3 separate regions of the Homo sapiens genome follow, and all the other regions are linked to region 3. The links are contacts of gene promoters, found by promoter capture Hi-C in blood cells and fetal thymus (Javierre and others, 2016). All regions are on one chromosome and are shown on one strand. The core of a region is centred on a gene start or on the middle of the fragment in contact, and the rest is flanking DNA. Distances in the headings are between cores, read along the strand shown. Region 1 has its middle 29 kb from the start of APC. Region 2 overlaps DCP2 (decapping mRNA 2). Region 3 holds the start of TMED7 (transmembrane p24 trafficking protein 7).

The links. Contacts are between HindIII fragments. The CHiCAGO score rates a contact against its expected background, and 5 or more counts as called.
Region 1: a fragment that was not itself captured here is called in contact with the fragment with the promoter of TMED7 in region 3 in 3 of 17 cell types (non-activated CD4 T cells, naive CD4 T cells and total CD4 T cells); the score reaches 6.3 in non-activated CD4 T cells.
Region 2: a fragment that was not itself captured here is called in contact with the fragment with the promoter of TMED7 in region 3 in 2 of 17 cell types (naive CD4 T cells and total CD4 T cells); the score reaches 8.0 in naive CD4 T cells.

Annotation. Positions count from the first base shown.
Region 1 is chr5:112,707,036-112,709,818 of GRCh38, forward strand. It overlaps a transcript of APC not described here. Among named protein-coding and RNA genes, the nearest start is that of APC, 29 kb to the right of the region's middle. RefSeq lists an enhancer at 443-502. The HindIII fragment of the contact is 810 bases long and covers 887-1,696 here.
Region 2 is chr5:112,981,947-112,984,788 of GRCh38, forward strand. The region is part of intron 1 of DCP2 (decapping mRNA 2); the gene reads left to right. Among named protein-coding and RNA genes, the nearest start is that of DCP2, 6.6 kb to the left of the region's middle. RefSeq lists an enhancer at 1-31. The HindIII fragment of the contact is 7,597 bases long and covers 1-2,842 here.
Region 3 is chr5:115,624,626-115,627,450 of GRCh38, forward strand. It overlaps TMED7 (transmembrane p24 trafficking protein 7), which reads right to left and starts at 1,411. Exons shown (of 3, transcript NM_181836.6): 1 at 976-1,411. The coding sequence starts at 1,167. It overlaps TMED7-TICAM2 (TMED7-TICAM2 readthrough), which reads right to left and starts at 1,411. Exons shown (of 4, transcript NM_001164469.4): 1 at 976-1,411. The coding sequence starts at 1,167. RefSeq lists a silencer at 1,067-1,136 and an enhancer at 1,307-1,476. The HindIII fragment of the contact is 9,571 bases long and covers 1-2,825 here.

The sequences.
Region 1 (2,783 bases), core at 42-2,541, 2.9 Mb before region 3:
GTGTGAGACAAACAAGGATTTCCCGGAAGAGGTGTTTTTAAATTAAAACTACAGGGTGGTAGTGAGAGGTGGTAGGGAAGCAGAGGTCGCAGCTACAAAATAATAACTTGCTCATCTCCGTTTCTCCGCTATCTTATGAGCCCTTGTGGGGCTGGGACAGAATTTTATTCATCTTTCTATCATCAGCGTCTAGTACGGGGAGTAGCAAATAGTGAGCACTCGATAGATGTTTGCGGAATAATGGACTAGTGTGTGCAGAAGGATCTATTAACTGGGCTGCAGCACAATTCAGAGAAGGCCAGTAAGTGCTGCAACTGAGACTCGGCTGCCTAGGCAGCAATGGCTCACGGGACAGAACAGCGAAGCAGTGCCCGGCAAGCGGAGCGCAGCACCCATTGCGCCTGCGCATAACAGGCTCTAGTCTCCGGGCTGTGGGAAGCCAGCAACACCTCTCACGCATGCGCATTGTAGTCTTCCCACCTCCCACAAGATGGCGGAGGGCAAGTAGCAAGGGGGCGGGGTGTGGCCGCCGGAAGCCTAGCCGCTGCTCGGGGGGGACCTGCGGGCTCAGGCCCGGGAGCTGCGGACCGAGGTTGGCTCGATGCTGTTCCCAGGTACTGTTGTTGGCTGTTGGTGAGGAAGGTGAAGCACTCAGTTGCCTTCTCGGGCCTCGGCGCCCCCTATGTACGCCTCCCTGGGCTCGGGTCCGGTCGCCCCTTTGCCCGCTTCTGTACCACCCTCAGTTCTCGGGTCCTGGAGCACCGGCGGCAGCAGGAGCTGCGTCCGGCAGGAGACGAAGAGCCCGGGCGGCGCTCGTACTTCTGGCCACTGGGCGAGCGTCTGGCAGGTGAGTGAGGCTGCAGGCATTGACGTCTCCTCCCGGCAAAGCTTCCTCGGCTTTGCCCCGCCGCTGCTCGGGACCCTACGGTGCTCGGCCCGACTCTGTGGCTCTCTTCTCTCCATGTCTCACCCTCTCCCCTCCCCGCACTCCCCATTCAGGCCTCCAGTTGGCCCCTGGCTTTGCAGGTCCTCCATTCTCACGCAGTGGATGGGGGTCGCGACGCCCGCCGTCCTCCACCTTTCCTGGCTGCTGCTGGAGCTTCGCCCCTGCAAGTGGTGCCCCATTCGCGTTAGGTGGGTGGGTCGTCCGCCCTTCCCATTTTAGTCGCTTCCCCATCTTCCTCGTTTGGACCCTCTTGCTTCCTCTAAAAGTTTTAAACTCTCTGCCTGGGAAAATACCTGATAGCCCGGCATGTGGAGTTACAAAGAAAGGGCTGTTATCCAAAGGCCGGTGAATTTTGTTCACTTTGATGGGAGAATCAAGTCCCCAGGAGCCTTGGATGGTTAGGTCAGAGTCTGACTCCTTGACCCACCAAGTAGAGGAATGGTGCCTCTGTTGGCAAATGATTGTTCATCTAAATCATTCATTTTTTTCGGCTGTAGGAAATCTTTGGTCTCTGAACTGTTGAGGTGGGGGCGTGAGCTTTCTAGATCTAGTGAAAGAATTGGAAACTGTTATATTCGTTTTAAAAAAGAAGACCTTATGCAGTACATGTAAGACATCACTTAATGGTACAAGCAAGGATAAGTGATTTATTCTTTTATTCAGTGTTAGCTTAAATTGCCTACTGACGTCTTAGAATTCCATGTTGTACAAGCCCTTTGTTTCTATTTAGAAAGGACTAAAATGGAGAAAAGCTTTTTAAGTTCAAAACTTCTTAAATTGCTTGTATTCTCGATTGTTGTTACTGTTCAACCCTCCTTAGGAGTACTTGATATTTTCTATATGATTTAGTCTTGTGCCAGTCTCAGTACTCCCTCCTTTATTAGTGGAGCAAGGGTAGTCAGAATTACTGGTGTAAAAAACTGTCCTAAATAACGTAGTACCTTGCCAGAGTCTAAGTGCAAAATGTGGGATCAAAGCGGTAGTGGAGGAAGTTGCCATGGCTAATTTTTCCATCTTTCCCTGGATGGAAGGGTTGGATAACGTGTCAAGAGCCCCAAAATTGTAGAAGTGAGATTAAAAATATAAATGATAGCTTGCCCTTTGAAATTGCAAATGGGTGGACCTTTTTTATTAACATTAAATTGAGCAATATCGTTTTCTTGAAGTTATGCTAGATGTTCTCCAAAGTTGTTAAGCACAAACTATGCCTGCTGTATTAGAATTGTATGTTAAAAATTTTTAACGTGTGGGTTATAAATAGCCTGGCAGATTTGTTTACTTTTCATTCTGTCTCATAACACATAATCTATTTTTCCCTTTACTGTGGACTTTTGACCTTTTAATGCATTTTTAAAATTTAGAGATAGAATTGTTCAGCTTAAAAGAAGGAGGAATATTTTTATGTTTGCTTCTTGTATGGGCTAGTTCATTCGTTGCTAGCCTTCACTTTTCTGGAACCAGAGCCTGTGTGTTTTTAGAGCTGGTTGTCTCTGAATTCTCTGCATACAGTTTGAAGGGGCAGTAGCAAAGCAGGGGTTGCTGAGCCCCAATCAGTGGCTCACTGCTTCTGGCAAAATGATTTGTAGCTCTGTATCAAAAAACATCTGACCACAAACTCTTTAAAACCTCTCACTTTGGCAGGGTGTGGTGGCTCATGCCTGTAATTCCAGCACTTTGGGAGAGGCCAAAGCGCATGGATCGCATGAGTCCAGGAGTTCGAGACCAGCCTAGGCAACATGGCAAAGCCTCATCTGTACAAAAAAAAATACAAAAATAAGCCAGGCATGGTGGTGCATGCCTGTGATTCCAGCTACTTGGGAGGCTGAGGCAGGAGGAT
Region 2 (2,842 bases), core at 40-2,539, 2.6 Mb before region 3:
GTGGAGACGGGGTTTCACCATGTGTTAGCCAGGCTGGTCTTGAACTCCTGACCTCAGGTGATCCGCCTGCCATGGCCTCCCAAAGTGCTGGGATTACAGGCGGGAGCCACCATGCCAGGCCCCTTCTGGCTATTCTTGAAATCCATTTTTTTGAGGGGAGGGGACAGTTGGCTTTCTGTTCTAACTTTGGTGTTTTTGCTTCACATTTGGACTATGATTCTGTTGTACATGTACTCCTCTCTAATATGTCCAAAGTTTCTAGCTGCTTTTTTCAACCCTTCTCATCCGCTTCCTTATCTTATCCTCAATCATACTTTCGACAGAATCCTTTTTTCCCTTTAGACTGCACTCTTGGGGACCTCCATCCTCCTAATCCAGTCTGGACTCGTTGCTCCTCAGACTTGCCTAGCAACTAGAATACTAGAATTCACTTTCACAACTCTCTGAGATGGTACTTACTCTTTCTTGAATATCATGTTTCATCCTTTCTTGGTTTTCATTCTTGTTTTGCTTGTGCGCATTTTAAGTTAATTTCTTTGAGGGGGTTCATTAGGAAGTAAACTGAGTCCTTTAATGTGTAAAATACCTGTTTCTGTTTTCACACTTAGTTCCCACATGGTCTAGCGTCCACATTTTGAGTACCAGTGTCTAGGTGATATCCTTAATACTACCTTCCACTGCTTCCGTTGGTTATAGTAATAATAGTTTTTTTTCCCCCCGAGGGCTCTTACTTAGTTACTGTACATTTAAAGAAAAATACAGTTGCTCTGAAAAAGGAATACTCTTTTAAATTTCTTTTAGGATAATAATTCCATCTTTCAACCCTCACTCCTGTTTTCTTCTGGTTCCTCAATTATGTTTTCTTCAGCGTCAGTTAAAAAACTTTCTTGTCATGCTTCACATTTTCCTTAGATGGTAGGTGATTTTTGGATGCCTTTTTATATTAATGATGAGACATTTGGGAGGTTTATTCATTAATACGCTTCTCCTTTATGTGAGTAGATAGGGAGCTGGCTCTTACACTTGAGGGTTTTTCATTTTTTAAAATACAGATAAAGCAGACTTTAAAGGATAAAGGTGGTGGTTATCAGTGTTGATTAATCAAGTTGGGCTCAAGGATTTCACAGGTCTTAAATGCCATCACACAGACTGCCATGCCAAGGGCATTCTGAATGCCAATTACAGATTGAAGTTCCTTCAGAAACCAAGATGTTATCAAAAACTGATGAAGTCTGGGTTTCTCTTCAAGTAAGACAAACACATTTCTTACATAGAGAAAATAGACTACTTGGTTCTGAAAGTTAAAACACTACGCTGAATAATTCCCCTCCCCTTCCCCACAAGTCCCTAAGGCAATATTACGGTTGCCTCTGACAGTTAAAATTTCAGCATTTCAACAGAGCGGGCTGAGGAGAACTGGGAAAAATGAAAAGCAAAATTAATGTAATTGATATGGGGGGTATTTTTTTAAAAAAATAGAGACGGGGTCTCACATTGTTGACCAGGCTGAATTTGAACTCCTTGGCTTTAGTAGCTGGAATTTCAGGCATGTACTACCATGCCTGGCAAGGCAGTATAGAAACATAAAGACTCACAGTAGGATTGACTTACGAGACCTTTCAGCACTGAAGGATATGAGTTTCCAAGTATGTATAGTCTATGGAATGACAGTGTAGTGGATCAAAAATAGACACTGCAAAATTTCACAACACTGGGGATGGAAGGAAGATATTAGAAGCATCCAGACTGGGGAAAAAAAAAGGTCATATACAAAACATTAAGAATCTGAATGGCTTTTGTCCTTGGCACAAATTAGAAGTAAAAAGAAAAAAAATCTGAATGGCTTCGATCTTCTCAATATCAAAATTGCAAGTTGGAATTAAGAACACTTTTGAAGATTCTGAAAGAAAATCATTTCCAACTTAGAATTCTTTACCCAAATTATCAAGTATGAGGATAAAGACATTTTAGATGTGTAGTATCTTAAAATATAGTATTTACCTCCCCTTTGCATCCTTCCTTCACAGGATATGTGAGGATTACTTCATGAAAACAAGGAAGTGAATTAAGGAGGATGAAAACAAAAAGACAAGACACATGACCTCTGTGGGATAAAGGCACAGGGAACTATAGGATGCTTGTGAAAGGGCAGTGTAGAGTTGACAGATGTGTACCAGGTGTAGAGGACAGCTGATCCAGACTAGAACAGATCAGAAGACTAGAAGTCTTAAAGATGAAACTGATGAATCTGAATTGTGGGGAAAAAAAATCCAAAATGAAACTGATGGATCTGAAAAGAAAATTCACAATGGAGATGATTATGTCAGAATATCCAAAAAGGAGCCAGGAGGGCATAAGGAGTTGGATCCTGGTCACATACACATCTAGATGGAGTTTCACCTGCTGAACTGGGCCAAAGTGTAAAACTAGCTGCATTTGACTTGAGTTGTATATACTGGGCCTGATCAACCGCCTGGAGAGATAACCATACCCAACTATATTGATCATTGACTAGAGACATCCTGAGCTGACAACCAGCCATCATTTATCATGGACTGTGCTAAAACCTTCCAGATACGTAAATTTACAGTAGCCCTTAAAAGCTCTGCCTAACCTTGCCTGAATGCAACATGATTTAGCTGCTTGCTAGACTTGTGTCTCCCAAATTGCAATCTCTAAAAACCTGATTAAAATGCCTTTTGCTACTCCAGTGTTGCAGTGTTGTTTTTATTTCTTAATTAAAAAAAAAAAAAAAAAATATATATATATATATATATATTTGAGACAGTGTCTCGTCACCCAGGCTGGAATGTAGTGACATGATCATAGCCCACTGCAGCCT
Region 3 (2,825 bases), core at 161-2,660:
CCCCTGCTGACCCCCTTGCTCTGGCTCCTTATTCCCAACCATATTGGACCTCTCTCTATGGCCCTGAAATTCTCAGTGTTCACTACTACCACAGGCTATTCCCCCTCCTCCCTTACCAAGGTGTTTATAGCTCATCCTTTAAAGTTCAGCTTAAAATAATTTTCCAAAGGAAGTCTTCCTTCATGGATCCTACTTACTGCTCTTAAGGCACAGTTCTGATGAATGAGCAGATACCAGTTAAGAAAAGCAGGGTGAGAGGGGAATCATGAATGATGGCAGTGACCCTATCTGTTTCGACCACTTCTGTACCACTGGCACCTAGTATTCAATAGCTACTCAAATGTTAAATGCGCCTACCAACCAAAATTGAAGCTCAGTAAAGACTGTTCTAACCAACCGAATAAACCACATTCTGTTAAAGTTTCTTTTTTATATAATCCCAAATATCAGAAGGGGCCTCTCATTTATCACAGCAATTCTTTCTACAACTCCCTTGGCAAATGGCCGTTCAACCTGTAATGGAGCTCTTCCAATGACAAGGACCGTATTAACCAACAGTCCTAATATTGGTAAAACTGAAAAGCAATGAAGTTAGACATTGGCAGCACTCCAAATCCAATTAAATTGGAGGTGTGGATTAGAGAGTAGAGGGTTGACACTGGGTACTACAGAGTATAAATGATTTTCTTTAAGGGAATCTTTTAAGGAAGAAAGTTCAATAGGCCTTAAAAATGAGATGGAAAGAAATGCTAAAGGGAGCATTTCTGGAATTCATATATTTTAACACCCGGTCTTAACATCTCTCACCCAAGGTTTATTAGAGGAAAGTCAAATGCTGGGCATCAGCTACCTAGAAGCGATTTTTGAATTAGCCTAAGAACGGGGAAACACGGACAGGAAAGTGCCATCCCTCAAGTTACACCCCCAATCCTGGAGCCGCGAGTTGGGGCCCAGGGACTGCTAGGCCCCTGATACCTGGAACTCCAGGGTGCACTTGGTGCCCTGAGCGATGTCCTCGTAGAAGCACTGCTTGGCGTTGTCAGGAAGCTCGAAGGTGATCTCAGAGGCGCCGCCGGGTCCAGGCACCAGTAGCAGCAGTGCGAGCAGCCTGCACCCCCAACGGCCCGCGACGGCCGCCCAGCGCTGCGCGGACCCCGGCCGCGGCATCCCGAGAAGGCGGCGGCGGCCTCAACCGAGCTGCGAGACGCAGGGTCAGGTCTGCGCGGACTCACCGCGCGCGGCAGGCCTCAGCGCAGGCCACCCCGCAAAGATACACAGCAGAGCAGGTTCACGCCTGTGGGAGATTCGGGATCAGAGCGACCCTCCGGCTTCCTGTGAGGGGCGCAGACGGGCGGACCTGGGGAGGTAAAAGAGAAGCGGAAAAGGCCTGAGAGGGTCGGAAGTGGGGATTAGCCTTTCGGGGGGTGAAGGGGCGGAGCCTGAGACACCGGCTCCCGTGACCCGGATGCGTTCTTCTCCGGGAACACGCGTTGGAGTGCGTACGTGGAAGCCCGCGAGGCGTTGGCTCTGCCTCCGTTGCAGCCTGGGACGAGGGGCGGGGCCAGAGTCGTGGGCGGAGAGGGGCGAGACCAGGAAACGGGGCGTGGCGGCCGCCGTGGTTACAGGCGGTTGGCGAGGGTAATTACGCTCCAATCACTGGCTTTTTTTGTTGTTTTTTTTTTTTTTTTTTTGAGACAAGAGTCTCGCCCTGTCACCCAGGCTGGAGTGCAGTGGCGCGATCTGCGCTCACTGCAACCTCCGCTGGGAACTTAGCGCTGGGGAGCATCTAGGGAGTGGTAAAGGGCTCATTTTGCCCTAGGGTGCTAATCGTTGGTGGTAGAGCGCTTTGCAATTTGCGGAGTTTTCTCATAAGTAATAATAAATATTTGGGGGAAGCAGCTGGGCAAGGAGCGCGAATTCTAAGAGCAGACTGCAGGAGTGCTTAATCCCTGCTTTGCCACGTACTGGCTGTGTGACGTCCGGCCACTTGCTTAAATTCTCTGCCTCAGTGTGTATCTGTAGAATGGAGATAATAGCACCTACCATAGAGAATTATTACAAAGTACCAATATTTGGAAAAAGTACCTAGAAGTGGTTGGTACATAGCAAGCACTAGATGAACTTTTGTTAAATTAAACGTCACAGTGCAATCAATACATTACATACCACAAGATAGGCAAAAATTTTAAGTGTAACAATAACAGATATTGGTCGACTTATAGAGCCACAAAACCTCTTATACACTGCTAGTGAAAAAGTAAATTGGTTAATCAAGTTGGAAAACAATGTGCCATTATCTAATAAAGTAGAATATATGTATACACACACAGAACACACACACCTATATACAGTGTGTGTGTGTGTGTGTGTATATATGTATATATATATATATATATATAGCCTGGAATATGTAGCCACAGCCTGGAAATTCCATTTTACATATATTTATGGAGTATATGCTTTAGAGCAGTGGTTCTCAAGTGTTGCTCTGAAGTCCCCAGAAGCCTCCTGAAACCCTTTCAGAGGGTATGTAATGATCTGTATGAAGCTGGATTTTCATTATATATTTCAACCAAAACAGCATAACAGATTGAATATCAAAGGAAATGAGCACCCAGCTTCTTCCTTAAATCTAGATATGAAAGATTTACAAAAATAAGGTCACTCTTCTTGCTAAATTTTTATTTCGAAAATATTTTTATTAAAAGATGTGTTATTTATGTAAATGTGTGCAGTGAGTTGAATTGTGTCCCCCTAAAAAATACATGTCCAAGTTTCAACCCCTCCACCCCTGTGAATATGATTTTATTTGGAAATAGGGCTTT